7 separate regions of the Homo sapiens genome follow, and all the other regions are linked to region 1. Evidence: promoter capture Hi-C in 16 types of primary human blood cells and fetal thymus (Javierre and others, 2016). All regions are on one chromosome and are shown on one strand. The core of a region is centred on a gene start or on the middle of the fragment in contact, and the rest is flanking DNA. Distances in the headings are between cores, read along the strand shown.

Region 1 (4,059 bases), core at 876-3,375:
TGGTATTTCTGGCATTGCTGCTGTAGTCTTCATAAACACACACACGCACAGACACACACACACACACACTCTTCCACTTAGAGGACAGATATGTTAACCATATTTCCAATTTAGTAGCAAAGCTCTGACATCCTAATGTCCTGATATTATTTCAATCTCTCTCTATTGTGAGAAAAATCAGAAACTGCCCAGTGAGAAAGTTGTATCATCTTTCCAGCAGATCTCTATGAACACGGCTTACCCATTGCTTGGAGATGGGTGTGTTCAGTGCTGCCCCATGGAGGAGAAATCTAACTGTGTGAAGGCTTCTCAAAGCTGATCCACATCTTGACAGGGATTATTTGTTCCTCACTCTCCTATCTCTCTGCATTCAGCTCACTTGGGGTAGAGGCTGAGCATAGGAGAAAAAGCTTGAAGAGAAGCAAAAGGAAGGGCTTCGGGGGCGCCAAGCAGTTTCTGGCCTATAGTGTTTATTATTTGATTCTATAAACATTTATTGAAACTACAGAATATTAGGTATTGTCCCAAGCTCTGGGAGCAGAGTGATGAAAAAAATAAATGAAACGAACAAACAACTCCCCCCACCAAACAAAACAAAACAAAACAAAACAAAACAAACCCAAAGTCCCTGTCCTCATTGGCAAGGCTTATAATGTGGTGGTCAAAGGTTTGAGGAGTGAAAGGATGCCTAGATGCGGGCAGTGACAGCAGGGGTGACAGCTGGGGGTACATACAGCTTCCTGGTTTGTGAAACTGTTAAGCCCCGACTTAACCCAAATTGATTTCACTGTCCTGACTTTGAGATTCCAGTCTTTTTGCATGGCAAATGTAACACTTGTGTACAAGCATTCGTACACTGCTTTACTTAAAATGTGATTTTAAAGCGCCCTCAGGGAGAAGGGCTGGGGTGTCTTGATGGGCTGGCTCTGGGCACCTTTACCTTTGAACGGCTCCATCAAAACCTTTCCGAGAGAGCCGCCAGGTGGCACCTGTAAAGCGCAGATGGGGAGAGTCATTTGCCCCACACCCTACACAGCCCGGAATAACCAGGGTGCGTGCTTTCCCCTGTGGGCTTGTTAGGGGCTAGGAAGTGGGGGAGTTTTAGTCTCCGTCCAGACTGCTTGCTTACATACCCCGTTTTCCTGATACCCCAACACATTCAGGGCGGATTTGTCCCCACGCACCCGGGATATCAAAGGCATGTCATACGCTAGTTGGGAGCATCTCGGCCTCAGTCACCCGCCGCGACGTGGGAACTGGCGGTGGGTGGCCGAGGGCTGCTCTAAGCTGGTCTCCTCAGCCCGACCTCTGCCCGGGGCAAGGGGGAGGAGGGGCAAGAGACAGGGGTCCCAGCGCGGCTGCAGACTGGGGTCCAGCAGGCGTGAATGGATGCCTAGACGCAGGCAGTGACAGCAGGGATCCCAAGCCCCTTCCAAAAACCCTCGGTCTAGGGACTGCGCTGCCATAGGCCGGGGTCTGGGGCGCTTTCTTCCTCCCGCGGGTTCTTTCTCTGTGGTTTCTCCTGCCCCCGCAGCAGCGTGGCGGCCTCGGGTCCCCCCTCGTCGCGGTAGCGGTGATCCCACAGCCCAGTCTGGGTGGGCGACCCAGCGGGCAGAGGGGCCGCAGAAAGGGGTCGGGGTACGGGGTGTGAGCACACGGAGCCAGCGTGGTAATTTCGGGGTGGGCAGCCGGGCCACCATCTCCGCTCTATCAGTAGCGGGAAGCGAGCAGCGCCAGTTGCGCGACTGTCGCTGCCACGGCCGCCTCTACTCGGTCGCTGGTGACATTGGGAGGAGACCGCTTGGAGAGAGCAGAGGAGGAGGAAGAGGAGCGGGGAGGGTGGGGGTTGGGGTGGAAGAAAGTAGCAATTGTGCCAGGGGGCGTGTGAGCAGCCGGAGAGCCAGCCGCGCTGGTGACAACTTCTCTGGGGCGCGCGCGGGGCTGGTAGGCGAGGAGCGAGCAGGGAGCGCGGCCGAAGCCAGAGGCTGGGGGAGCTGCTGGAGCCTCGCGAAGCCGCGGCCGGCGCCCTGCGCCGTCGCCGCCGCCTGCTAGTTTCCTCCGGGTTCTCAGCCCCGGGTACTGAGGCTTCGGTCTATAAATAGCAGGTTACAGCTCCTCCTGGGCGCGCACACGCTCACACGCTCGCAAGCGAACGCAGGAAAGTCAGGCTAAAAGTGTCTGCTGCTGCTGCCGCCCCCCACTCCGCCTCCGGGAGAGGTAATTACCCGCCTGGGATCCTAGGGCTCGGTGGGGGAATTTTGCAGGGTGGGGTGGTTGATGGTGGGTAATCCGGGAGGCGAGGGAGCGTGTCTGAGAGCGTGGCGGCACGTCTTGGAGGGGGGAGCCTGTCTGTTTTGCATCAAGTTTCTCCGTCTTGCAGCCTCCATCACCCCTCCAGCTCTTTAGCTTAAAGGGTGGGGTGGGCTGTCTCTCCTCGGCTGCTGGGGTACCCCTGTCACCGCGCCTACCCTCTCGCCGAGCGCCCCTCTGCCCGGCGCGCGCGCGTTTTCGCATTCTCACTCACACACGCACACTCTCCGGGCCCCCGTGGAACTCTGAGCTCTGGCCTCGCTGACCTTCCAAGGCTGCGCCCACCTGCGCTGTCCCTGAGAGACGCTGAGGTTGGCCCGGGCACTCGCTCTCACTTCCAATCCTGATGATCGCAAGCTGCCGCCGCCGCCGCCGCCGCCGCCGCCGGCCTGGGAAGAAGTCCTTAAGGAATAGAGGCAGTGGTGGGGAGTGAGGGTGACTGATGTTGGTGGTCCCGGTTGCCTTGTTTTTTGTTTTAAAAATAAAGAGCCCATCTCCTTGACCACCTTCATCCCACCCTCAACAACTCATTCTGGCAGAGAAGCCTGGCATGTCTTCTCTCGGCCATCAGGCAGCATCTCTTGTCCTTCCCCAAAGAGGTCTCGCTGAGAGGTTAGGGCCTTGGCGCAAGAGTGCCTGGGTTTGGACGGGGGAGGTCATTGTTTCGGGTCTGAGAACTATGCTGCAGGCTCCTCAAGCTCTCTGGCGCTCAGGCAGGGCCCAGGGCCGGGGAATGTCTGGGAGCCTGGTTCCTGAATGTAGTTTCAGGCTGGTAGCTGATATGAAGATGAGGATGCTAGAACCACATATACCTGTTTTTCCCCCTCCCCACGCTTCTGAATTCTCCCTTCCTTGGGGGCAGTAGTTTCTGCTCCTGGGGAGTCGGTGGAGAGGGGCCCAGCAGTTTCTCTTTGGGGACAAGAGGGTGAGGAAGCACATATTGATTAGGTTGTTGCTGCTGCTGCACAAAACTTACTGGAAAAACCCGGTAGGGTTTTCTATTACTCTTGTTTTAAGGATGTAAATTTACTCCTTTTCCTCTTTTATCTTCTCCCTAACCAGAACTAGTTTTCCTTTCTCTTTCTGGAATGTTATTTGAGGTCATTATATTTTATGACTCCAGATGTTACATTTTGCATATCTCCTTCCTGTCAGTATGACAGACAGAACTTGTTTATAAAGGTGTGGCTCTGTAAGTAAAAGCCTAAAGACAGAGGATAAATTCATCTTCTCTCTCTCAAGATGAGCTCCAGATAGTTCTTTTATAGGTGTACAACTACATTTCAAAGACCTTGCTTGAAAAAGGACTTTTCTTAATGAGTTCTGGACCAGAAATGGTAGTAATCTGACTCAATGATAAAGCAGCGCATAAGGTGCAAGGAATCATCAACAGGGCAGCTGGCTGATGATGTGTAAGAAGTTGAGTAAAGCAAGGACTGGGCAAGTGGGCATTGTCAGTTCACATACTATGCACAGAAATGCATCCTCTCCTTTACGCATTGATGCACATACATGCATTATGTGTTCCTTTGTGATATAATCCTGTAAAGCATTGATAGGAAATGATCAATAGTTTTGTGAAAGGTACATGGGCATTGAAGGTTGAACCTCGTGAATTTGTAGTAATGTAAAATGCTATTGCAAAATGGATTGCTTTTTCAGTGTATTTCCTTAAAATGTGATGTAGAAGATTGTCCTTGAAAGGTTATGAAATGTGTGTGTGAAGATAGGCTAAATGCTCAGTGACAT
Region 2 (4,059 bases), core at 1,016-3,515, 990 kb after region 1:
TAAAGTCTAAAGAAAGTGACAGTTTTCAAGTTATATCTCCTTTTCTTTATAAAATATTTTAGCATCTTTGCAACTTGGACCGTATCTCATTTCTATTAACCAGCCATAGCAGCTTCCAGAAAACTACCAGCCCCTTTCAAAGGTCATGCCTGTCCTTTTCCCTATTGAATATTTAAGAGTGAAAAGAATTGTAATTGCAAATGGCCAACTATTTTTAAAGATTCAAGCTTTTCCTCTTCCTTCAACACCCCCACCAGCCCCAGCACAGAGTGAAGCTTATTCTCAATTAAGTTCTCCTGTGCCTTATCCAGCCTGGCACAGAGACAGGCAGGTTGGGGCAAAGATAGGGCTCCAGTGGCTGAGGGGCCTCTCAGGCCATGCTGTGTCTGACTCTCCCAGCCTAGCTGAGTCCACTGCACCTCTCTGCATTGCCCTGGGGAGAGAGAAGGGGGTGCAGGTTTCCAAATGGAGTGTGAAAATCAAGAGATACATGTATTTATATGCAGTGGCATCTTAAAAACAAACAATGACAGTATTTGTCTCAGTTTTAGTTTTCTACTATTCCCTTGATTTTTGAATTTCTGCTAAATATTTCTTACCTGTTAGCTTTCTATTAATCAGAACCTGGATTTGTGATTGCGCTTCTCTCTGAAATATGCTGGCCTGATTATACACTGGAATGATGAGAAAAGCAACTTCTAATCATTAGCAATGTAAGAAATTCCTGAAAAATATTCAGTGATCACCTGTGAAATGTGGATGGTGATACTAGTCCTTGAATACATGTAGAAAGTAACAAGCATAATATCAATTTCCTTGCAGGATGAAGCTATCTCACATATGATAAACCTTTCATTTCACAGGCATCATTCTCTGTTTTCTGGTGCAAGGAAAATCAAAGGTCCTCTCATTAGTTTATTAAACTTCAATTCAGTTCCTAGAGATTTAATGAAATAGCCAATGTCTAAATGCTAGATAAGCTACTCATTTTATAAAGTGTTTTCCTACAATATATTATTACATCCCTCCCCTGCTTTTTTTTGTTGTTGTTGTTCAAAACAAGGCAATAGATTAACCTCTCCTCCTTCCTTCTCTGACATCCAACTTGATCTTATTCTATATGCATTAACTGAAAGCTGTTTTTATTATTGAGAAATCCTATGGCAACGTGATATAGGTGTTGCAGATTACATGTCAATTGTGAATACTATGTAGTAACTGCCTCCATTTGTCTTGGTCAGTTTGGGCTGCTTTAACAAAGTACTATAGATTGGGTGGCTCATAAACAACAGAAATTTATTTTTCAGAGTTCAAGAGGCTAGAAGTAGGAGATCAGAGTGCCAGGTTAGGGCACTCTGATGGTAGGGCTTTGGTGAGGGCTTCTGGGTTGCAGACTGCTAACTTCTCATTGCATCCTCACATGATGGGAAGAGGACAAGCTAGCTCTCTGAGTTCTTTTTATAAGGGCTGTAATCCCTTCCATTCTTATAGCCTAATTACTTCCCAAAGGACCCACTATCGGGGGAACCAGCCCCCAATATTTCAGCATACGTTCTTTCTATTTTCCCTAAGTGTCGGTCAGTCTGAGAAATAAAGAGAAAGTGTACAAAGAGAGAAATTTTATAGCTGGGCCTCTGGGGATGCCATCACATATTGGTAGGACAATGATGGCGACCCTGAGCCACAAAACCAGTAAGTTTTTATTAGGGATTTTAGAAGGGGAAGGGATGTACGAACAGGGAGTATGTCACAAGGATCACATGCTTCAAAGGGCAATAAAAGATCACAAGGCAAGGGCAAAATTAGAATTACTGATGAGGGTCCATGTCCTGCTGTGCATGCATTGTCTTGATAAACATCTTAACAGGAAACAGGGTTCGAGAGCAGACAACCAGTCTGACTAGAATTCACCAGGTTGGAATTTCCCAATCCTAGCAAGCCTGAAGGCACTGCAGGAGACCAGGGTGTATTTCAGTCCTTATCTCAACCACATAAGACAGACACTCCCAGAGCAGCCATTCATAGACCTCCCCCCAGGAATGCATTCCTTCCCCAGGTCTATCAATTATTAATATTCCTTGCTAGGAAAAGAATTCAGCGATATTTCTCCTACTCGCACATCTGTCTATAGGTTTTCTACGAGAAGAAAAATATGGCTCTATTCTGCCCAATCCCACAGCAGTCAGACCTTATGGTTATCTCCTTTGTTTCCTGAAAATCGCATTATTCTGTTCTTTTTCAGAGTGCACTGATTTCATGTTGTTAAATACACATGTTTTACAAACGATTTGTACAGTTAATGCAATCATCACAGCGTCCTGAGGTGACATACATACTCAGCTTATGAAGATGATGGGATTAAGAGATTAAAGTAAAGACAGGCATAAGAAATTATAAGAGTATTGATTGGGGAAGTGATAAATGTCCATGAAATCTTCACAATTTATGTTCAGAGATTGCAGTAAAGAAAGGCATAAGAAATTATAAAAGTATTAATATTGGGAACTGATAAATGTCCATGAAATCTTCACAATTTATGTTCTTCTGTGGTGGCTTCAGCCAGTCTCTCCATTCAGGGTCCCTGACTTCCCGCAACAACCCACCATGAGAATTAGATTTCAGCATATAAATTTTGAGGACACACACACATTCAGTTCATTACAACATTATTTCACAGAAAGTTAGGTTTTATGCAATTATAATTCTTATCCTATGGAAGAATCCTTTTCCATTATACTTCATTACCTCAAAGTAGCACTTAAATCTTCCATTGACTTTGATAACAAAGAATACAGTGTGATATGTCCCCCTGAAAAATATATTACTCATTATTTTGTTCCAGTGTTAGTATAGTATGTTTTAATAATATGATTTATAGCACAATTTGGTAATATAATTTATTTATGACAATTAACCAAATGATCTTTTGTCATAAGTTATCAAGGTTAGAATTATGGTTGTATAAATAAACTTTCTGATACAAATTTCTTTTTTAATTATTTCCATATATACTGTTCAGTATACTATGAATATGAAATTGTTTATTATTGTATATTCGTTATCACATTGTTAAGAAAAATTATCCAAAACTTCAAAATAGAGCAAAAGGATGACTGTGTGTCTTCTTAATGTTATTCTGGGCCATTGCCTAACAGATCCACCTAAGAATTCTCTATGATATATCTTTGTTTGAGTTTCTAAGTAACACTGATTAAATCTCAGATTCTGTGAAGTTACATGTTAATTTTTTTCAGAAAGAGATACAAATGATTTCTGGCAGTTAAAAAGATAAGTCCGTAAGTTATGGTTTTATTGCCCTATAAGATATTAACCAGTTTTTTTCTCACCTAGAAAACTTATTTCACACTTTATTTCTCGATTGCTTATTCAAATCTCTGTTCTTCAAGTACTCCTTGCAGCAACTTCATCTGTATTTTGGTTTGCTCTTTTTGAATGAATCAAAAGTGGCAATAGAATTTACCTTTGCTAACTTATTTTTCCCCTTACTCTGATTTTTTGTTTTGTTTCTGGTTCATGTTCAACTTTGGTTCTGGTTTTGGTTTGCACAAAGCCAATACATAGTTATCTATTAGGGACATTGAGCATTTATTATCTAAGAATGTGAGACTATAGGAAATCTGGTTTGTAGTTATTTTGTTTGTACATGTTTCCAGTGTCCTCTGGTCATTCATATACATGTTCAGTGATTCATTAGAAGGTCTCACAGGACTCCAGGCACCTTAATTGTACTCATGGCTATAGTTTACTACAGCTAAGACATAAAGCAGAATTAGCAAGGACAAAAAGCCTCATCAGGAGGGATCTGGAGAGATCTAGGCACAACTTCCAAAGTTCTCCCTCAGGAGGGTGTGCAATACACGCCCCTTCCTCCAGCAATGAACTGTGGTAACATGCACAAAGTGTTTCTGTCTGGGAAAGCCTGCTTTAGACAGAGCGGAAAGTTTTTATTGGAGGTTGGTCATGCAGGTACTCTCTACCTGTGCTACCAGCCGCGATTACCAAAAGCCCAGACTCCCAGAAGGAAAGCAGGTGTTCATC
Region 3 (4,059 bases), core at 969-3,468, 820 kb after region 1:
TGTGGTCAATGCCTGGTCAAAAATTTCTGTATAGGACTTGTTTGGGGATTGCGAAGGACTAGAAATCAGCCATGGCTAAGGAGCTTCGTTAGAAGTTTCCTTTGAAAAGTTCCACTTTTCATAAGACTGAGCCACAATCAGTTTTTTGCCTGAAAACATAGAAGAGCTAATAGAGAATATCCCACCCCCTTAACCACTGAATGTGATTGAGATTCTTAATACTCTGAATACTGATGAACTAGAGCATAATTATTTTATTTTCAATTTATATCAATATGGTATATTTCAGACTGGCCATAATTGGAGCTGCTTTTAAGCAGAATTATAAACCAACCCCCTACTTTTTTTTATTTACACAGAAAGTAAACAATCTAGAAATGAAGTCTTTTATTTTCTGTGGTATCACTCTGTAAATATGGGTCTCTTTTCAGATGAGATGTCCATAGGAGATAGATTTGGCCCTATCTAAAGAAGATGAGCAGGAGGTGATATAATTTATGAGCTGAACTAACAGAAGGGTGCTGAGTTGGATTTTATTAAACTAATATTATGGCTTGCAAGGATGGCATGTCAGATGTCTCACTCATTTTAAAGATTGTGCCATTTCAATAAATCATTTTTATAACTTTAAATACATTATATAGGTGCAATGCCAGTAGAGAGTATGTTTAAATATGCCAGACACATTGGTTTGCTTCACTACATCCTGTGTTGTTCATTTCATTTTCTAAAGATGTAGTTATCAGATTATTTTCATGAGCTAATCCATGTTTTAGTTGTATTCATAAAGTCTTGATTTGGTGCTGTTATGCTTATTTGATTCTTCCTTGCACATATGTAATCAACCCATGTGAATATCATTACAGTGTTTCTCTCTTCCTTCTTGCACAAAGAGCTAAAGGAATCTCCTGTTTTAATTCCTTTGCCCATGTAGTACAATGAGAAAACAATACACAAGATGCATTTGGGGAAATTTACCATAAGATTTCATCTGAAAGAGTTGTGTTATGTAAGATAATGCATTGTATTTCAGAATATTTAAGGCTGAATTTTTTTTACTGTGTGAACTCTATACTATTTTCTTTTCCCCCCCAACTTCCCCTCATTTAACAGCAGACAAACCCAGGGAGCACTGAATGAATCCGATGATCCTGAAACAGGCTGTCTAACTGATAACAAGCCAACTTCTCGACACTTCTATCCTGTCGCCTTGCTGCTTGTCAGCTCACACCTGCTAGTTGTGTGGCTTATTTTAAGTCTGGCGTTACTCTTAGCCAAATACCAATAAGTTTTATGTTGTATTCCTTTTTCTTTTCTACAAATGACAATGAACTTTAAATTATGGGGACAATGCTGTAATATTTTTACATTTTCAAATTCACAGAATTTAAAAAATGTTAAATTGTGTTTAGTTTGTTTTTCCTAAAATCTAAAAAACAAAAAGTACTATGCATTAGGTGGATTATTTTGCTCTTTTGTTCATGGAAAGGTGTTTCCCACTGTTAACTAGCTCAAGAAGAATTTTTAAATTACTGTCTTTGGAATAAGACAAAGAACAGAATCCTGAAAGCTTGAAGTTCTGAACCTCCTGTCCTCATCCCACTAAATTTATTAAAGAAATTAAGACTGAAATTTGCACAAACACTGAAACCCTGAGACAAGTTCTAGAGATGTGGGAGGTTGCAGACTTTATTTCCACTGTGCTAATATCATAGATGCCATCTGCTGATAGAAATTTTTTTTAACCTGTTTTACTTCTTTGCTGCAATTAACTCTTTTCTGTCAAGTAACTTTATGGAGAGAATGGCTATTTATGTTTTGTAATTAAATTACCTGTTTGTATCTCTTGTTTGGGTTGATTTGGCTTTCAGAGGACTTTTCTATTCTTTTTAACAAGGTCTTGTTTGTGTCTTGATGTACCATTCCCAGCACTTGTGACTTTTGTACTGTCCGTGGACAAGCACTCTTCCTTTATAAAGCTGAGACTTGGCCCAGGCTGTTCAGAAAGCCATTTTCTCTCTTCCTTGCACAGCTAAAATAATAAAATAGAGATGAAATTTTTCTTTAAAAATCTATAGGGCCAGACTTAATAAATTAAATGCCTTATTTCTAGAACCTGCATCCTTAGGGCTACATATAGATTTTAATGTGTTTTAAAGAGACTGAGAAATTAATTTGTGGAAATGTTATAAAAAGGCAGATATATTTATGAAACTAAAGTGGAGCTGTATTGTGGAGCAAATTATATTTAAAGAGTTTATTAAATTTTAAATGTTAAGAGTAAAGAGACTTAAGTCATCTCTTTCAGAGGGCAATAATGGTATTGGGCCTGGCCTAGGATTTAATTTTGTAAGATGTATCATCACTTGTGGAAAAAAAAAATGTAGAGTTGAATCTTTGTTATTTTTACTTGGATGGTTGCTGCAACTCTGCATTAAACAAATAAAGCATATTTATTTATTCTGTGTTTCATGAAGTTGTACTTTTTCCCCTTTCACCAGAGAAGGATGCCGCATAGAGAATGTACTGAAGAATATCAAATGCAGAAAGTATGCTTTCAACATGCTACAGCTGATGGCTTTCCCCAAGTACTACAGACCTCCAGAGGGGACTTATGGAAAAGCTGACACCTAAGTTTACCAACATGTTAATAAACAGGAACACAAATACATTTCAGTTGGATAATCTTCACCTTGGTCTTTTTTGTTTGTTTTTATTGTCATGAATTTGTGGTGGGGGAGATGATCACAGATGTTTCCCAAAATCTAGGAACTACTTCAATTCATCATCAGCATATTGCTCTGAAAGAAATCCATTTTAAAAAATCTTACATGATTCAGTACTGTCATTTCTAGTTCTAAGCTTCTATGTGTTGAGCCTAGCTGATTGAGATTGGTTCACAAAGTGTAAATTTCATTCATGAGTATTTAAATGTTTCTGAGGAAACATGGATCATTTCAATAGGACTAGGGGTGATTCACAGAGCACCACTCTCCAACCAAATGGAAGAGAGGAGAGGGGGAAAAGGAACATATTTTTTTTGTGATACAACTTAATAGCCTATGAGAACACAGTCAACCTGAGAATCAATGTAAGGGATTTAAAAAAAATGTGTAGCCACTCAATTAGGTAGAGTTAACTCATGATCTGGAATACTGAGGCAGTTTGCAGGTATGTTCCACAATGATCTCTATCATCCAGTCAAGGTGTGACTCCTCCCTTGCAACAGGCATATGCATGGAGTGAGTAAAGTGGTCAACAGACCTTTCAAAACCATGGCATCTTTTCAGAACTCTGACTTGGGTTGTGTGATCTAGCTGTGAATGTAGCAATATAGAACGTTTAATAGAATGATAAGCAAAACACTGCAATGATCTAAAATTACAAATAAAATAAAAATGAACAACATTTTGATACCCAAAATGAAAATTCCCATCAGCCTGAACTTTATGTTGTGAAGTTCATGAATGTCAGTGAGGTATCTCTGAGATGTTTCTTAGCAGTCATCCTGGTGTAAGCATGCAGTTATGGCATAGGTTTGTGTGTGTTAATAAGCCTTTAAAACATATGCAACCACAACAAATGATAAAGTAAAACAATTATTTTCTGTTGCCCTGAATATCAAACTTGCCCTTGCCCTTACTCAGCAAAATAACATTTATAAGTTTTCCAAAATCCCAAAGTAGAAGTTTCCTTAAAAAAATCATCTTGTATAATACCAGTATTCAAACATGGGTAAGGTTAATCACCCCCAATCACTCAGGAGATAGTTGCAGAATTTGAATTACAATCTCTTCTTACTTTCCTAGCCTGTGGCTTGTCACTTCTCCAAATTGCCATGCTAAATATGCATGAAAATTGAGGGAGAATGCTAGTTAAAAAGAAATTAGGATTTATCACTGGAATTGAAACTAAGAGTACAAAAGTCTGAACGAATGAAACTTTTCTCCAAATTTTACAAATTCTTGTTCCTTTCTCATTAGAAGAGCATGCTATCCAAAGCATAAATCTCCCTTGAAAATAACAGAGGCTTCTTAAGCCCTCTCTTAGCTATGATCA
Region 4 (4,059 bases), core at 668-3,167, 790 kb after region 1:
ACAATTTTCTAGGTCTAGGTTATCATTCATGGTTTCTTGGAGAAAAATTGGGAGATTCAGGTTAATATTGAGTGAAACACTCCGGCATATCTAAAGTAAAGTATTTTCTGAGAAAGTGGGCCATGACTACAGGTACAATTGTAACTTTTATCTGTGTGGAAATGTGGTAGCCATACTTGGGACCTAGGACTAAGTCAGGATGACAATTTTTCCCAGCAGAACAATGATACTAGTACCAATATCACCAGTGTTTATAAAATACATGTTTCCTTTCTGTTAATGATACAATGTTACCATCCACTTAATGTTTTTGGTAGATCCAGCCTCACCACCATCTCTCTTCAGGTTCTCTCTCCTCATTGCCTTCTGGAAGCCTTGCCTTTGTGTTAGCTTTCCAAATTCATATTTCAAAATACATATCTGATCTGTGTACCAGCTGCTTAAGAGCAGTTCAGTGGCCTGTCACATGGTTCTCCATCTCCCTCTCCTTTCCCTTCTCCACAATTTTTGTCCTCCCAGCCAACCCTCCAGGTCCTTGAAGTCACTGTCCTTTTCACACGCAGTCCCTGTTGGCCGTGTCCTTTCCCCTTCTCTGCCTAATAAACTCCGACATCTCTGTGAAGTCTCTCCCAGACAATACCTCTTCTGTGGTGGTTCATTGTTCCTTTGTCTATGCTTGAATGTCACTGTACAGACATTCATCATGAGATTGATGTTTTAATATTGATTTGGGTATCATTTCCCCCTTTAGTCTTTGAGCCCTGAAGGCTGGAACTTTATCTTTCAGGCATCTAGTACAGTGCCTGGTACATGATGAATGAAGAGTTAGAAATTAAGAGGTAGAATTCGACAAGCAAATATAGAATTGCTGAAGTAGAATAGACTGTGGGCTTATAGAGAGTACCTAGGCCAATTGTCCCAAATACCATTTTAGTAAGTCAAGTTTAAGTAAGTACACACCACTAGTCAGTGAGAGCACCAAGCTCAGAACTCACTTCCCCAGTGTGTCCTGCTACTGTTTTTTCTTTGCATAAATATGGTTCCCATTTGCCAAATCCCATCATTTTTAATGCCCAAATGGGAAAAAAGGCTTACATCTCATCAACAAAGTTCTTACCCTTGTTAAAAAGCTCTAAAATGACTATACAAAAATCTGGGGGAAATTATTTGTACATGTCTTGTCTGTTGGAAATGCTTTATGTCTGTAAGTGTTTCCAAAAGTGTAATATACAATACTTATTTAGCACAGCAAAATTGATGTCATGTTTTTTAGAAATACATCTGAAGAATAATAAACACGGTTTAACACAAAAGAATATGGGTTATACTTCAGGTAGCAATTTTTGGGCAAATTTTAAGTAATTCTTAGGGAATAAATAAGCTAGTTTAATAAAAAGAGCAATAGCATTTCTCTTTAGAAATCATTAGGCATGTTAATTTATTCTACATCTAATCTCTTTAATTTTCATTATCTAATTTATAATACATGGAGTATTTAAAGTTATTAAAGGTATAAATATTTGGACAATTTGTGAGGTCATTTTGTAAATAGTTGAAAGGTATTTAAATATAATGGTAGTCTGATAAAAATAGTTTATTCTTGATCAAAAAAGACCTGAGTGTTGGTTCTAAGGAAGTCAGAACATTTTATTTCAGTCTAATGTGTCATTTTATACTTTTTGCAAAGTAAAACCATCAAAGAAAAATGAAGAGATGAGAACGGTGTTATTACCTTTACTTATAACTATAAGGAATCCACATTGCTTTCTTGTAATGAGAGGTTCTGGACCCACAGATTTGTAGGAGAACCCTAGATTTTATCCTTTACCAAGTGAAAAGAAACTGAAACATTTATTTAGGTTAAAAATCAAAACAAAATGATATCTAAATGTATGCACACAAGAATAATACACTTTCGTAAGAATTATTTAGACAGTTGAATTAATTTTCTACTTAGCTTTGTGACCCATCACGATTGTGGTATGTGGATATCAATTTAGGTAAATGGTTTATTTTCTAATTAGTTGGTGGCTTTAAATGTCTTTTAAAACCCTTGTAGAGCAACGCTGATGTTAAATGTGTGTACCAAGAGAAAATTATTTTTAATCTATATCTCCTTCGAATATCACAACATACATTATATGTAAGACTTTTTTATGTATTTACAGTAAAGTGAATAAAAAATAGATGTACATTTCAAAAACATAATTATAAAGCAAAAACCGATGAAACCACCACCCAAGTCCAAGAAATAGCATGTTGCTAGCTCCCAGAAGTCTCACTTAGATATTAAAGTCTTAGGAAAACTCTACCATAAAAGAACTTAACTTTTGTTAACCCAGCATCTAGTATTCTATAACAATACTTACGGAATACTGTATAGGAAAGTCTGTCTTAGAAAACTAGGCAATTTAAGCACTATGAATTTTAGCCAGTAGATGATAAAGTAAAGGTATTATGTTCAAAACAATGTTTAATGAAAGTATTCAATGTGTTCTTGGCTGTAGTATCTTTTTGAGGATTAATGTTCTTTTATAAATATGTGCTTGTTTGTGGAGGAATAGAGGGAGAAGAGAGAAACCTATATATTTATTTTAACTTATACAAATATGCAACTTCTCTAGTTTACATATCTCAACACAGAGGAACATGTATTATACTCAATCAGGTAGCAATTTCTAGAGAAATTTTAAAAAATTCCTAGGGAATAAATAAGTTTGGAAGTCATTATGTATGTTAATAATTTATTCTGCAGATAATCTCTTTAATAATTATCTGTATGTAATTAAATCTATGGGTTCCTCATCAGCTGATGGGTGGTTGGTTGTATCTGTGGACCCAGAGGGCTGGCTGTAAGAGACTTGAGCATCTCCAGATTTTGTTATCCATGGTGGTCCATCCTGGAGCCAATCCACCTGTAGGTACCAAGGGATGATGGTATTTAACATATGCCAGACATGCTAAAGAAAGATTCTGTACATGTTCATGTTTGTTTGTGTGTATACAAATTTATCATCCCTATTTTAAATATTACAAAACGAATATTTACCAAAGTATAGCTCATCTAAATAGCACAGGTAGGAAGAGAATAAGCCCGATTCAGACCTAGGATTGTCTGAGTCCCCACTAAATAAGCACTACATTATAAGCCTGTATATAATGGAGTTGAGAATCCCATAATATATATAGAATCACTATGTGCTGTGTACAGTGCTATCTACTGAAAATTTCTAAAAACCTGATATTTATAGAATTATAAGAATCCACTAGCTAATAATCTTTTTTGTTTTTAATTATTCTTTTCATTGAAATACTTCTTATTAGAAAAATGTTAAAGTAATGAGGCAGCTAATTCTTCTTTTACCAGAATGACATCCTTTTGGTTACAATCCCCTAAAACAAAAGGATAAGAAACCTGGTAAATTTTAGCTACAGATTTCTACATAAGCATGTTTTAGATAACTATTAGATTAAGTTTGGAATCTCATTTGTACTAAGTCAATTCTTCCCTATCCCCTAGCCAACTTCTTGGCAGCAGTTTTCAGTGAATTATTTGCTTGTATTTAGAAAAAATGAATTCAAAAAATAAAATAAAACTATTTGAGCCATGTGATGCGGGAGCCTAACAATAGTAATTAATTCATCACCTGATGAAAAGTCATAAAATCAGCTTCCAACATCATCAATGGTATTTTACGTGGATAAGAACATAGGCCTTTAGTTGATTGTTTTGTGATTTTGAGTAATGAGATATGGTGTCTGAATTGCCTTTCATATTTCTTTCTACTTTGTATTTTAATGTATCTTACAAATTGCCATTTATTAATTTTGTCACAAAATGAATTTCTGCTTATTGATAGATTCATCTTTCTGGAAAGAAATACATTTAGTGCCCACCACATAATGACAAAACTCACATTTTAGTCAAGTGTATCTATTGTACCAAGTCTTGAGTACCAATCATAGATTATATGGTTAGTTTTATTTCTTATATTTCTTCATTCTTTTTTTCTTCCTACAGAATTTGACATACACAACATATACTTCTTGATGCAGTCA
Region 5 (4,059 bases), core at 515-3,014, 770 kb after region 1:
ATAGCATCGGGGAATCTAGAAACAACTTAGCTTAGAGTCGGGGTTAGTGCATATCCGGGGCCCCCAGAGAGCAGCACTCAGCACTCAGTTTGTGGAACTAGAGAATGTCTAAGTCCTGAATTCCCACAGCTTTCACTGGCAAGTTAGGATATCCTGTAATTAATGTGTCAGGAGCCCCACCTCTGGAGGTGAGTTGGGAAAACAGGTCATTAATAGAAATATGTGGTCGTCATTTTCATAGTCAAAAGTGAACATCTTTTGTATATCTACTATGGCAGAGTACCATGCTATACAAATGGAGAAACACATTTGAAATTATAATAGCCACTAATAGTCAATGAGGACTTACTATGCACTAAGAATAACACTAAGCATCCTATATGGGGAAACTGCTAATTCCCACAAGAACAGAATCAAATAAATGAGTCCAGAGCATAGAAAGTGTTCATTATTAAGTGGCTCAGAGGATAAAAAGAATCACTGTGGCCAGGAGGTATCCTGGAGGAGGTAGAATCTGAACTGTGTCTTAAGGATGCATACAATTTAGGTAAGTTGCCAGGAGTTAGGAAAATCTATGTTAGAATTATCTAAGTGGATAAGAGTAGTGCTTATTCATTCATCACACTTGTCAAGTGATTTTGCTTACGTTTAAGTGTTGTAATGTGTGGCACATTGAACAACTTATTTTCTTCAGCTGATATCAAGTTTTTGAGATCTGTATTTATTTTAGATCTAGTTATCTTCTTTTAAACTTATATAATACTCCCTTGTATAAATAGACCACAATTTATCTATTGCCCTAGTTAATTTTAAGTAACAGCAAAACATCAGATGTTTTACCAACATCTGATTACCAACAATAGTGTAATAGACATTCTCACATGTATATCCATGTATATAAACCAATAGGTATAATGGGTGGTAAGGCATTTGTATTTTTAATTTTGCTAGATGCTGCCAGATTGCTTTTCCAAATAGCTATACTAATTTATAAGCCACAAGGCATGCACATGTGTTCCCATTTCTCCACACATCCCAATACTTGTACTGTAAGAGTTTTTAACCATCTGATGGATGAAAAGTGCTATCTTTGTTTAAGTTATATTTTCTCAGTAACACAAAATAAGATTAAATATCTGTCTAAACATTTACTGGCCATCCAGATTCTCACTCATCTCATCTTCTATGTTTCATATAATGGAGTTTTGCACATAATTGCAAATTATGAAAGGTTTCCAGCATTTATAAATAAACCACTGGCCTGTTGTGTTTAAGTTACATTTAGAAGACACTGTTTCAGGAGTGGTGCATTTTTTTAAAAATGTGCTTTATTTTTATTTTTTAAATGAAAGCACAGTGGAATAAGACAGGAGCATCCCTTGGGTTTGGACAGAGAATGCATCATGCTATGACAGGAGCCTGTGACATGATGTGAAGCTTTTTAGCTGGGAGGGGGACAGGGCTCCATTTTAGATAAGAGAAAGACACTTCCAGCTGAGAAACAAAAACCTACAGTTGATTAGAGAGATGATTGATGCCTTTGCACTTGGAAAATGAGGTGTAGCAAGAACTAGTCCAAGAAAGGTCTCATTTTCACTAAAGAAGGCTGAGATGCAGGCAGCCCAAACCTGAATGATCTATGGAGAGCAGTTATGCCAAAACCTAGAGTCTATTTATGCCCCTGGAAGGTTGAGACAAGAGAATCAAGGAAATAATTTTCATTTCACTGCCTAATGATTTTTTCTACAAACACCATCTGCCTTGTCCTAGCCAATGATATCCATGAATTCATATATTCAATATGCCTATTATGTTTGTCCTCATATACAAAGAAATCCAAAACCATTAATTCAGTGAATTATCATTATACTGTCTAAAACTTCTTGTCTTCCATCAGAACACTTGCTATACTCAGGTAAACACTGTCATAAAATGGCTTCAACCCTTCTTCTAACTTGAATATTGGTTATAGTGCTCTAGACACTGGTTCAAGGGAACAAATTGGATGGCTTCACAGGCCAATTTCTAAAGAAAACTGAACTGGGAGGCAACTGTATTTATGAATAAGTACCCAAAATGTTGCAAGCTTTTCTCCTGATCAGAAGACCACAGATGACAGAGAAGTTCAAATGCTAGGCATAATATATTAATGTTCAAACGATAGTGGCCTAAAGCCCTATGAGCAAAAATGCATTATGCATAATTACACTCCATTCTCTTCCATTTAGTGAGCCTATCAGAACTCATATGAGTGTGAATGACATCATTATGGGGATCAAAACTGTAATTTATAGAGCATATCATTTGCAAAATTGGTATTTTATTAGTAACAAATCACATGTGATATCTCTCAAATACCATAGTATTATTTAGGGGTAATCACTGCTCTGAATACCCTAAAATCTAACAATTAGGCCAGCTCAGCAAAGAGCAGGCTGCCCCACTATGGCACATAAAGTGGGTAAGAGGAAGGACTTTGGAATTAGACTGCCTGATTTCTCCACTTCTTAGCAGTGGGAATGAAATTCTAAGAGGCCTTAGGTTCTTTATCTGTAAAATGAAACAACATATATAAAGAAATTGGTAACTGGGTATAGTTCATAGTAAGCAGTTGGTAAAGTCAAACTTATATTGTAGTGATAATTTCACCAGCATCCTCATCTAATAGGGTTGTCATGAGCGCTAAAAGAGACAATGATCACTGATGCACTTAAATAGTACTTGTTACACAGTGAGGATCAGTAAATATTAAATGCTGTCATGGCTATTACTGATGTGTGGTGATGACTGTTATTACTGTCATTATTGGTTCTTTGTCATGGCAGCTTCCTATCACATTGTTTTTACTAAACTGTAAATGGTTGTTATGTCCTCAAACTATATTGAGGAAAGGTAAAAAAAAAAAAAAAAGTCATTTCCACTATTCATATCATCTGTTGCATTGGTTCTCTTTTATTTACTTTTTTTTTTATTATTATCCTTTAAGTTCTGGGGTACATGTGCACAATGTGCAGGTTAGTTACATATGTATACATGTGCCATGTTGGTATGCTGCACCCGTCATTTACATTAGGTATATCTCCTAAGGCTATCCCTCCCACCTCCCCTCACCCCATGACAGGCCCCGATGTGTGATGTTCCCCACCCTGTGTCCAAGTGTTCTCATTGTTCAATTCTCACCTACGAGTGAGAACATGTGGTGTTTGGCTTTCTGTCCTTGCGATAGTTTGCTAAGAATGATGGTTTCCAGCTTCATCCATGTCCCTACAAAGGACATGAACTCATCCTTTTTATGGCTGCATAGTATTCCATGGTGTATATGTGCCACATTTTCTTAATCCAGTCTATCATTGATGGACTTTTGGGTTGGTTCCAAGTCTTTGCTATTGTGAATGGTGCCACAATAAACATATGTGTGCATGTGTCTTTATAGCAGCATGATTTATAATCCTTTGGGTATATACCCAGTAATGGGATGGCTGGGTCAAATGGTATTTCTAGTTCTAGATCCTTGAGGAATCACCACACTGTCTTCCACAATGGTTGAACTAGTTTACAGTCCCACCAATAGTGTAAAGGTGTTCCTATTTCTCCACATTCCCTCCAGCAACTGTTGTTTCCTTACTTTTTAATGATTGCCATTGTAACTGGTGTGAGATGGTATCTCATTGTAGTTTTGATTTGCATTTCTCTGATGGCCAGTGATGATAAGCATTTTTTTCATGTGTCTGTAGCTGCATAAATGTCTTCTTTTGAGAAGTGTCTGTTCATATCCTTTGCCCACTTTTTGATGGGGTTGTTTGATTTTTTCTTGTAAATTTGCTGAAGTTCTTTGTAGATTCTGGATATTAGCCCTTTGTCAGATGGGTAGATTGTAAAAATTTTCTCCCATTCTGTAGGTTGCCTGTTCACTCTGATGGTAGTTTCTTTTGCTGTGCAGAAGCTCTTTAGTTTAATTAGATCCCATTTGTCCATTTTGGCTTTTGTTGCCATTGCTTTTGGTGTTTTAGACATGAAGTCCTTGCCCATGCCTATGTCCTGAATGGTAATGCCTAGGTT
Region 6 (4,059 bases), core at 535-3,034, 760 kb after region 1:
ATCACACAAATGGACGTCAGAGTGGGAGTGTGGTGCATCCCATGGCAATTTTGTATCTGCCACTTAGTGTGGGAAGTGAGTAGATTAGGGACTGGGAAGGCAGCCATAATTTCTGATTCATCTTGGAACAGTTTCTGGCCACACAGTTATTTGGCCATAAGAGAATGAAACTATTTGACATCATTAGCATCACAGTTCAGTGAGCTAAAAGGCCACGGTTCCATTCCTGTTTACTTATTAATACCCTGCCTGTGATTCAGGTCGTCAAAGTCAGAGCTCTTCTTGTTGAAGAAACCTATTTGACCTAACAAGGAGGATATAGGCCCTAAAACCTGACTCTCAACTTGATTGTTCTGTTCCATTGGGGAGGTACGAGAATAGTCATGGGGTTTGTGAATGTTTGTGACTGGGGTGTGTGACTGCACGTGTGTGAGGAGACTGTTTCTTACTTTGGATACATTCTGACTTTTACCTGAGAAAGTAGGCTTCCCCTCTGAGGCTGTGAACTCTTTTTTAAGTGCTACTAATATCTTCTGTTTTTCAGAGGTGACACAGAATTTAATAATGTAGCCTTTTCTGCCAAGAGTTTTATTCATTGTTTTCCATTACTGGTCAATGACGCATGACCGGATTCTTGCCCTTATTTTGCAGTTGAGGAAATAGGGACAGAGGGTTAAGCAATTTGCCTAAGACTACACGTCAAAGCAGCAGTAGAATTGGCATTAGAAATCACTTTCCTGGAATCTTGGCTCAGTGCTGTTTTTGAAAAGCAATTATAAAAGTTTCAAACAAAAAAGAACAAATCATACATAGCACACATTTGGGAACCCATTGCTCAGCTTTGGAATTTTCGTAAGAAACAAATATTTACAGATAGGGTAAAAGCTCCCTTTGTACCCCTCCAGGTTACCACCCTTAATCCTCCCCTCCTATGAGAACATCAATATCCTGAATTTGATGTTTTGCATCCTCATACACATTTTACTCTATATTTATGTATCCATAAAAATATGGTACAGTTTTGCACATTTGACTATATTATTGCTGTTGTTTTGTATGAATCTTTCTATAATTTGTGCTTTTTTGCTCAATATTGTTTTTGTGATATATCCATGTTGACACATATGGCATTTGTGTATCCTTTTTACTTATATTACTTTGCATTAATATATTGGTTTATTCTTACTCTTTATGAACATATTAAAGCTTTTTTGCTATTTAAAATTATAAACAATAATGCAATAAACATTCTTGTAACTTTTACCTCTGAATACTTTCTTAAACTCCATTTGAAAAAAAAAAGAATACTATTATGGAGATATGCATAGAGACTCAGCTGCCCTGTCTAAATTTTGTGTTAGAATAATGCAGGACTGAGTAGCAAAAGCAAGACTCTTTGGCTATATTTACATTTGAGGAGACACAGTCTAAGCCTAAAACCAATTCACGTTCTGTGTACACCACAATTTTCAGTTGATACATCAGGATCTATCATTACATCTTGAAACCTCACCTATTAACAAACTGGCTATTATTAATGATACTGCTTTCCTGAACCAGACCTGAATTTCTGTGGTCTGCAGAATTTTTATTGGGTTGAAAAAAAAAAAAATGGCAGCAACCCAAGTATTGGGTTGATAGAGGTGTGCTCTGAATAAAGCAAGTTTTGTCACTATAGAAATAGAAATAGTGGCCTAAAAATGTTAAAAAAAAAATCAAAATTACTTTTCTTGTAAGAAGCACACCATGGGAGAGGAAATGAAATTTCCATGAGACATCATGCCTGTGTATTCTAACACACTCTCTTTATGAGGTGGGAATGGGGAAAGGATGGCCAGGTGCTTGATTTACATTTAGGATTCTTATAGTCTGTTTAAAATGGCTTATTAAAACATTTCCATGTCTATAATGAAACAAAATTATTTTGATAAATCATGCTCTGTTCTGGAGTCTCAGCGTTCTGAAGAATTTGGTCTATTGTGTTAATACTAGAGCTGGTTTTAGTACTACCAATGGTAAAAACATCAGCAGAGATTTGGGAGAAATTACTGGTACAGCAGTTAAGAGACAAAGTTTTAGCCTTGACTCCTCCTCTGACTATGAACTTTGTGAAAAAGTCACTTCAGTCCCAGTCACTTTGGACATGGGGTTGCCCTAACTCAGGGCTTTGCAAATGTTTTATGTTGATCCTAGGAAATGTTAAATAAATGTGGTGTGTTGGAACTACAATTTTTGAAAAATTATGAAATACAAAAATTTCGAGTGCAATGTATACACTAAGGGTAAATATCATTTCATAAGGTTTTTGTTACAGAGGGGTGTGTGTGTATGACTGCTGTGAGATGTTTGTAAAGTAAGCTTTTTTCTTTTTATAAATTGAGGTATTTTTGATAATTAAGGATTAGGTATACCTAAGGCATACAATTTGATGATGTATGATACATATCCATTATTAAATAATTACCATAGTCAAACTAATTACTACTTCCTCACCTCAGATATTTATCACTTTCTCTCTCTCTCTCTCTGTGTGTGTGTGTGTGTGTGTGTGTGTGTGTGTGTGTGTGTGTGGTGAGAACATCTACAATCTACTCTGTTAGCAAATTTCAAATACATAATAAAGTATTGCTAATTAAAATTGCATTGTTATGTATCAGCTCTCCAGATGTGATGTCTTCATCTCATGTTAAAGGAAACTTCTTATTCTGTATTGCTTTCAAAACTGTTTGAAAGCCATTTGTACAAGCCTGACTTCAGAAAGAAGCTCAGGGGCTTTCCAGAAGGGGTTAAGCCCTTGTTTAAAACTCATCAGTTGCCCGCATTTTCTAGGATGAAGCCCAGATTCCCCAGCAGAGCAGAACATGATTCTCCTTCATAAATCTTGCCCCAGGACTAACCACTCCAAGGACATTCTGAACTGCACACTCCGTGTTTCTGCAGTACTGGCTCATGCCTCGTGCCTTTGCTATTTTCCCCTCAGCCTCAAACGCTCTTGGTAGCTGCAAAGCATTATCTTTGCTGGATGCCCTCCAACACCCACCAATTCTTATAGAATTGTCCAGTGCTTCCCTTGCTTCACAAATCTTTACTGAGTTATGTCATAGCCTGCAGTGTACTTTCCTGGATTTAATAATAGTTTAAATATCCATCCCACCCTACTAGACTGTGGAAATTTTGAATTCGGGTCTTTATATCGTAAGAATTTAGGTTCTTCAGGATATAATGAACTGTTCTACCATGAAGCCAAGAAAAAGAATTTAAGTTATTTCTTTTTCTCATGCACATTCTCTGTTCCCCATTGCTCTTAAAATCATCTTATTATTTAAAAGCAATATGTGTTCATTTAAAATGATATGAAAAGGCAGTTGAAGCATTACACTAAGTTGCACAGCCTAAAGATGGCCACTGTTAATATCTAAACTAGTGTTTCACTCTGCCTATATACATATGCCAAGAGAAGCCAACATACAGGCATGCATGTGCACGTGCACACACACACACACAAGCACACATTGTTACACAAATAAGTTTATTCATTAATCTGGCCAATTCTTCTTTTCAGCAATGTCAAGGACACTTTCTATGTCACCGATATACCTGTACATAATTTTTAATGGCTGCTTATAATTCTAATTTATGGCTTCCCCTGGGTTTGTTTTGGTTGCCATTTATCAACATTAAAAGCAGTGATGGTGGACTTGACTTCTTATTTCTTGCATGCCATGATTATAAATTAAAAAGCAACCTTATTGTCCTTACCTTCTTTGATTAGCCACCAAGTCCTGGTCTGATTTTATAACTCCCTTCAAGGCATTCCATATTCGGCCTCCTTCCCTTTATCTTTAGGCTATCTTTGGGCTGTGTCCTGTTAAAATTCCTGTATATCAGAGAACCTTCTACCTCACAATGTGATGTCTTCAGTCAAACTTTCTCTTTTGTATGAGAATCATCTGTAGTTATATAGTAAAGATATGACTTTTGACAACTTTCTCTTTTAGAAACAAATTCAATGGAATCATGCATATATTTTATATGACTATTTTGAACCTCACTTCCCTA
Region 7 (4,059 bases), core at 630-3,129, 740 kb after region 1:
GGGAGGAGAGAAGCATTGAAGTTCAGTGAGTTGATATGATGAAATATAGGTTAGATTAATTTTTCCAACATTTCATTTATTGCATGGTGCAATGTATGGTATGTAGTTGATGTTAAATATTTTTTGTATAGATGAATTCATTTTTCATTGAGACTGAATGATCTGACAAGGGTCCAGAAAGTAAACTGGAAGTGAAAGAGACTAGGGGCATAGTTCTGTGGTATTTGGGAAGCTTTAGGAGAGTCTAAACTGGATATGATTAAATATCTTAATATATAATGACAGTGGTTGAGAAAAAAAAAAAAGGAAGGGTTACCAGAGATAGGAAAAGACTGAGGAATAGTGGGTAAGGTGAGGAAAAGAGGAAATCCAAAATGATGCCTAGATTTTGAACCTGAATTAATGCCAAAATATTGGGGACATGCTTAGCAATGGTTCAAAGGAGGAAGCAGTTTTAGTTTTGGGTTATGTTATATTTGAAGTGGAGTTGGAAAATGCACACTGAAATTTTCTATTCACACCTAGAAATAGAGATTTTGATGAAGATACATATTGGAAGCCATTTACATAGCATCCTTTTATAGGGAGACAAGTGGGTTTTACCTTTGAACTTGGGAAATTCTCAAAGATAACACAAGGTTAGTGACACACTGGTAGACAGGTTTGTCTTGACACCTCTTGGTGGAAGACTACGTGTACAGAACCATTTGACTTCATGGTATGAACGAAAAAAATGTCGGCAGAAATGATCTACTGTCTGGGAAATCTGGCTCTACGTGTGCCTACAGCAGTTGATAGTGTGGGCAAGACTGCGTGCAGCCCAGTGTCCAGTGCTGGTCTTCTGGTCCCCTCCCTCAGCTGCCACGAGTGAAATGGATGGTTGGATAGATAGTAAGAAAAGTTTTTTAAAACACATACAGGGATGTAGCCCTGCCACAGAGGTGTGGAGTAGGATAGGGAAGCTAATATCAATTATGTCCATGCACAGAGACTGTTGTTTTATACATGGTATTTTATCTAGGTTCACATTTGATGATTGTGAGGATATTTGAGGTGTTAGAAGCGATTAGTGAAATCAGGGCCAGTGGAGATTGGAATATGTTTGAAATCACCATTGTGAATTGTAGCTTGAAAAATGAGACAGACTCTTTCCTTAGGAAATTATTTTCTAATCTATTTAAAAAGGAAAGGTAAAATGTGTTACTTTTTGGTACCGTTTTATAACCCACAGCTGTTTTCTTTTTTCTGTTTGTAGGTTTGGAGATGTCTCTTTGCAAGAAAGTATTAATCAGGAAAACTTCGAACTTCTACAAGAATATTACAAGATATTTATGGAAAAGATGCCTCCTGATTGTAAGTATGTGAGTTAGAGAAGACAGCAATAATAGCTTCTTGATTATAAATCTTTAGAAGAGGTCAGACATAGAGGTCAGTGGACTACAGAAGCAGGGGTAGGGATGTGAGAGTGATTTTGAAATTATCTGATCCAAAAAGACTGATTGCCAAGGTAGCATGGCCAACACCTGCATCATTCTCTTGATTGCCTTCTTGAATGTGTCCTGCTGTTCATTCTGAGACATTAATTTCATTGCCACTGGAAAATGCCAAATAATAAAAATATGGACCTTATAATTAGACATTTTAATTAGTCTGATAAAAATTTTGTATAATTCTTAACCATATAAAAGACTTTACTAAAGATTTAAGTCTCCATTTATAAGCAACATCAGACATAGGACACACATGCAGGAGAACATCAGATATAATACCAGTTGAACAAAATAATATTAAGTCAATGTGAATGAGGGAACTAACTTATTAAATATATGTATTGCAATATTTTATGCAAAAAAAGTTAAGGCACCCAAGCCTTTAAAAATGTGTTTTACACATTTGGAATTTGTTTTGGAGGGGGCCATTGTCCAATTCTACATTTCTTTTCCCCATCGTATTAAGCACATAACATTTGAGCAGTCCAAAATCAGAGAGCTGGGAATGTATTTGGAATTCATCTATAAATAGTATAAATATGTTGAGATATTCACAATGATAAGAAGCTAAGTTTTAATAAAGTAGGAAAATTATAATATTTTAACCAAAAACTGTAATCAAAGTCTACTCGTTACTATTTGTTCTGTAATCATGAACAATTTGCTCACTGATTTATATTCTGTTATTTAGTGTGAAATAGCTCAGGTGGCAGAGTGTTTATGTCTTCATAACCTAATGAATGTGGTATCCAAATATTGCAGTGGCATATGCGTGCCCATGTGTGGATAGTTAAAAATGTCACTTGCAGATTTTATATTATGATTTATATTATTTTATGTCAAATCAAATATTATTTTTTGCCAAAATGAATTTAAGTACATGGAGATTCTTTGGTAGCAAGCATACTTTAAGTATTAAATTTGTTAATTACCTGAAAAGTTAATAATGTAAGTAAAACTATTTTTCTTTAGCAATTAATGAAAAAAAAGAGTTTATTATAACTTGAATGTTAATTATTTTTTAACAAATTACTTACAATTTGGAAAAAAAGTCTCAGAATTTTTGTCAGTAGCTTGATAAAAATTATATTTCTTATATTAATTCTTGAAAAGTATATGTGGTCCCCAGGCCAGCGGCATCAGCATCACCAGGAAACTTGTCAGCAATGCAAATTCGCAGGCCACACTGTGAATCTACTAAACTCTCCCCGAGTCTGTGTTTTAATAGGCCTTTGAGGTGGCTTCTGATTCATGCTAATGTTTGAGAACTAATAATATGCCATCCTTACTCAAAATATATATTACAAAGTAGATTGTTGGCAAAGTCTGTGAGGACTTTCAGTGCTATACTTAAAACAATCATATTGCTAAAGAAATATGTATAGGTACTGTTGAAATACAAAATAATTCTATATTCAAGTAACTTAAACTCTTCATAGGAATATAAGTTTAAAAAATTTTAGCCCGGGCAACATGGTGAAACCCCATCTCTACAGAAAATACAAAAATTAGCCGGGCATGGTGGTATGTGTCTGTGATCCCAGCTACTCAGGACGCTGAGGGGTGGGAGTATGGCTTGAGCCCGGGAGACAGAAGTTGCAGTGAGCCAAGATTGTGCCACTGCACTCCAGCCTGGGTGACATAGTGAGACTCTGTCTCAAAATAACAACAACAACAACATGTGATTCTATATATTGCCAATTAAATATAAACAAGTGTTTTTCAAAACATGTAAATATATTTCTCTCCTTGCAAACAAGACGGAATTTTGTATAAAACCAATTGCATTTCATTGCTTACACAGTTGTCTGAACATACTGGATTGTTTTCTGATATTTTGTTTCCTGTATTTTTGAGACAATTCTATTTGACACAGAATGGAGTTGTAGTATGGCTGTGGTTGTGCTCCATAACAAAAGTACAACTCCAATCTATACAATTATGATGACATATGGGTTTATTCCTCCTGTAGACATATTGCAAGCCAAAGAATGATTTGAGTTCTGCTCTATTTAAGGAAAAAACATAAAGCTTTTATAAGAGTATGAGTAGAGGTTAGGCCATTTGCTAAGAAGGAAAGAACTATCATGCTGGGTCATATCCATAATCCATATAATCTATTATTTTCCTTCTTTCATAGTGAAATCAAGGGATAATTTGTGTCAATGTTAAAGGATAGGTTAATTTCTTAAACATATTGCTGTCACTTTTTAATTCATTATGGATGTGCTGACTATTAATTTACTGATTCTCTTTTTAAATGATTTATGAAGTAAGTAGGTGAATTCTATTTTTGAAGTAAAAAAGTGTTTCTTCTCCAAAGATTTTCTTAACTTTAAGGGATATCCCTGACTTTTGTGATATCAGGACTTAATGATAAATTAATTTTAGCTTATATATTCACTCCCAGTCAAGTGGCTCTCATCTTTTTACTCTTCTCATATAGAAGCATTTGTGGACTAAATATTCTTCCCAAAATGTCTTCTAATTCTGTTATATTTGTAGCAATTTTAGTTTATAGTCACAATTCAGCAATCTACAAACATGGAATAGTTTTATTTCAGTAACT

What was found. Contacts are between HindIII fragments. The CHiCAGO score rates a contact against its expected background, and 5 or more counts as called.
Region 2: a fragment that was not itself captured here is called in contact with the fragment with the promoter of INPP4B in region 1 in 2 of 17 cell types (naive CD4 T cells and total CD4 T cells); the score reaches 6.6 in naive CD4 T cells.
Region 3: a fragment that was not itself captured here is called in contact with the fragment with the promoter of INPP4B in region 1 in 4 of 17 cell types (naive CD8 T cells, naive CD4 T cells, total CD4 T cells and 1 more); the score reaches 5.8 in naive CD8 T cells.
Region 4: a contact is called between a fragment that was not itself captured here and the fragment with the promoter of INPP4B in region 1, in 2 of 17 cell types (non-activated CD4 T cells and total CD4 T cells). The highest score is 6.9, in non-activated CD4 T cells.
Region 5: a fragment that was not itself captured here is called in contact with the fragment with the promoter of INPP4B in region 1 in 2 of 17 cell types (non-activated CD4 T cells and naive CD8 T cells); the score reaches 7.3 in non-activated CD4 T cells.
Region 6: a contact is called between a fragment that was not itself captured here and the fragment with the promoter of INPP4B in region 1, in 6 of 17 cell types (total CD4 T cells, naive CD4 T cells, naive CD8 T cells and 3 more). The highest score is 12.3, in total CD4 T cells.
Region 7: a fragment that was not itself captured here is called in contact with the fragment with the promoter of INPP4B in region 1 in 7 of 17 cell types (non-activated CD4 T cells, naive CD4 T cells, total CD4 T cells and 4 more); the score reaches 13.4 in non-activated CD4 T cells.

The regions. Positions count from the first base shown.
Region 1 is chr4:142,844,367-142,848,425 of GRCh38, reverse strand. It overlaps INPP4B (inositol polyphosphate-4-phosphatase type II B), which reads left to right and starts at 2,125. Exons shown (of 26, transcript NM_001101669.3): 1 at 2,125-2,217. The region is part of intron 3 of USP38-DT (USP38 divergent transcript); the gene reads left to right. RefSeq lists an enhancer at 782-1,368. The HindIII fragment of the contact is 4,051 bases long and covers 413-4,059 here.
Region 2 is chr4:141,853,562-141,857,620 of GRCh38, reverse strand. No RefSeq gene overlaps it. Among named protein-coding and RNA genes, the nearest start is that of IL15, 220 kb to the right of the region's middle. The HindIII fragment of the contact is 3,976 bases long and covers 278-4,059 here.
Region 3 is chr4:142,027,357-142,031,415 of GRCh38, reverse strand. It overlaps INPP4B (inositol polyphosphate-4-phosphatase type II B), which reads left to right. Exons shown (of 26, transcript NM_001101669.3): 26 at 2,502-4,059. The coding sequence ends at 2,634. Among named protein-coding and RNA genes, the nearest start is that of IL15, 390 kb to the right of the region's middle. The HindIII fragment of the contact is 1,292 bases long and covers 1,573-2,864 here.
Region 4 is chr4:142,049,655-142,053,713 of GRCh38, reverse strand. The region is part of intron 25 of INPP4B (inositol polyphosphate-4-phosphatase type II B); the gene reads left to right. Among named protein-coding and RNA genes, the nearest start is that of IL15, 420 kb to the right of the region's middle. The HindIII fragment of the contact is 8,711 bases long and covers 1-4,059 here.
Region 5 is chr4:142,071,392-142,075,450 of GRCh38, reverse strand. All of the region lies in intron 25 of INPP4B (inositol polyphosphate-4-phosphatase type II B), which reads left to right. Among named protein-coding and RNA genes, the nearest start is that of IL15, 440 kb to the right of the region's middle. The HindIII fragment of the contact is 649 bases long and covers 1,440-2,088 here.
Region 6 is chr4:142,087,950-142,092,008 of GRCh38, reverse strand. The region is part of intron 23 of INPP4B (inositol polyphosphate-4-phosphatase type II B); the gene reads left to right. Among named protein-coding and RNA genes, the nearest start is that of IL15, 450 kb to the right of the region's middle. The HindIII fragment of the contact is 1,152 bases long and covers 1,209-2,360 here.
Region 7 is chr4:142,105,387-142,109,445 of GRCh38, reverse strand. INPP4B (inositol polyphosphate-4-phosphatase type II B) reads left to right here. Exons shown (of 26, transcript NM_001101669.3): 23 at 1,256-1,353. Among named protein-coding and RNA genes, the nearest start is that of IL15, 470 kb to the right of the region's middle. The HindIII fragment of the contact is 3,289 bases long and covers 235-3,523 here.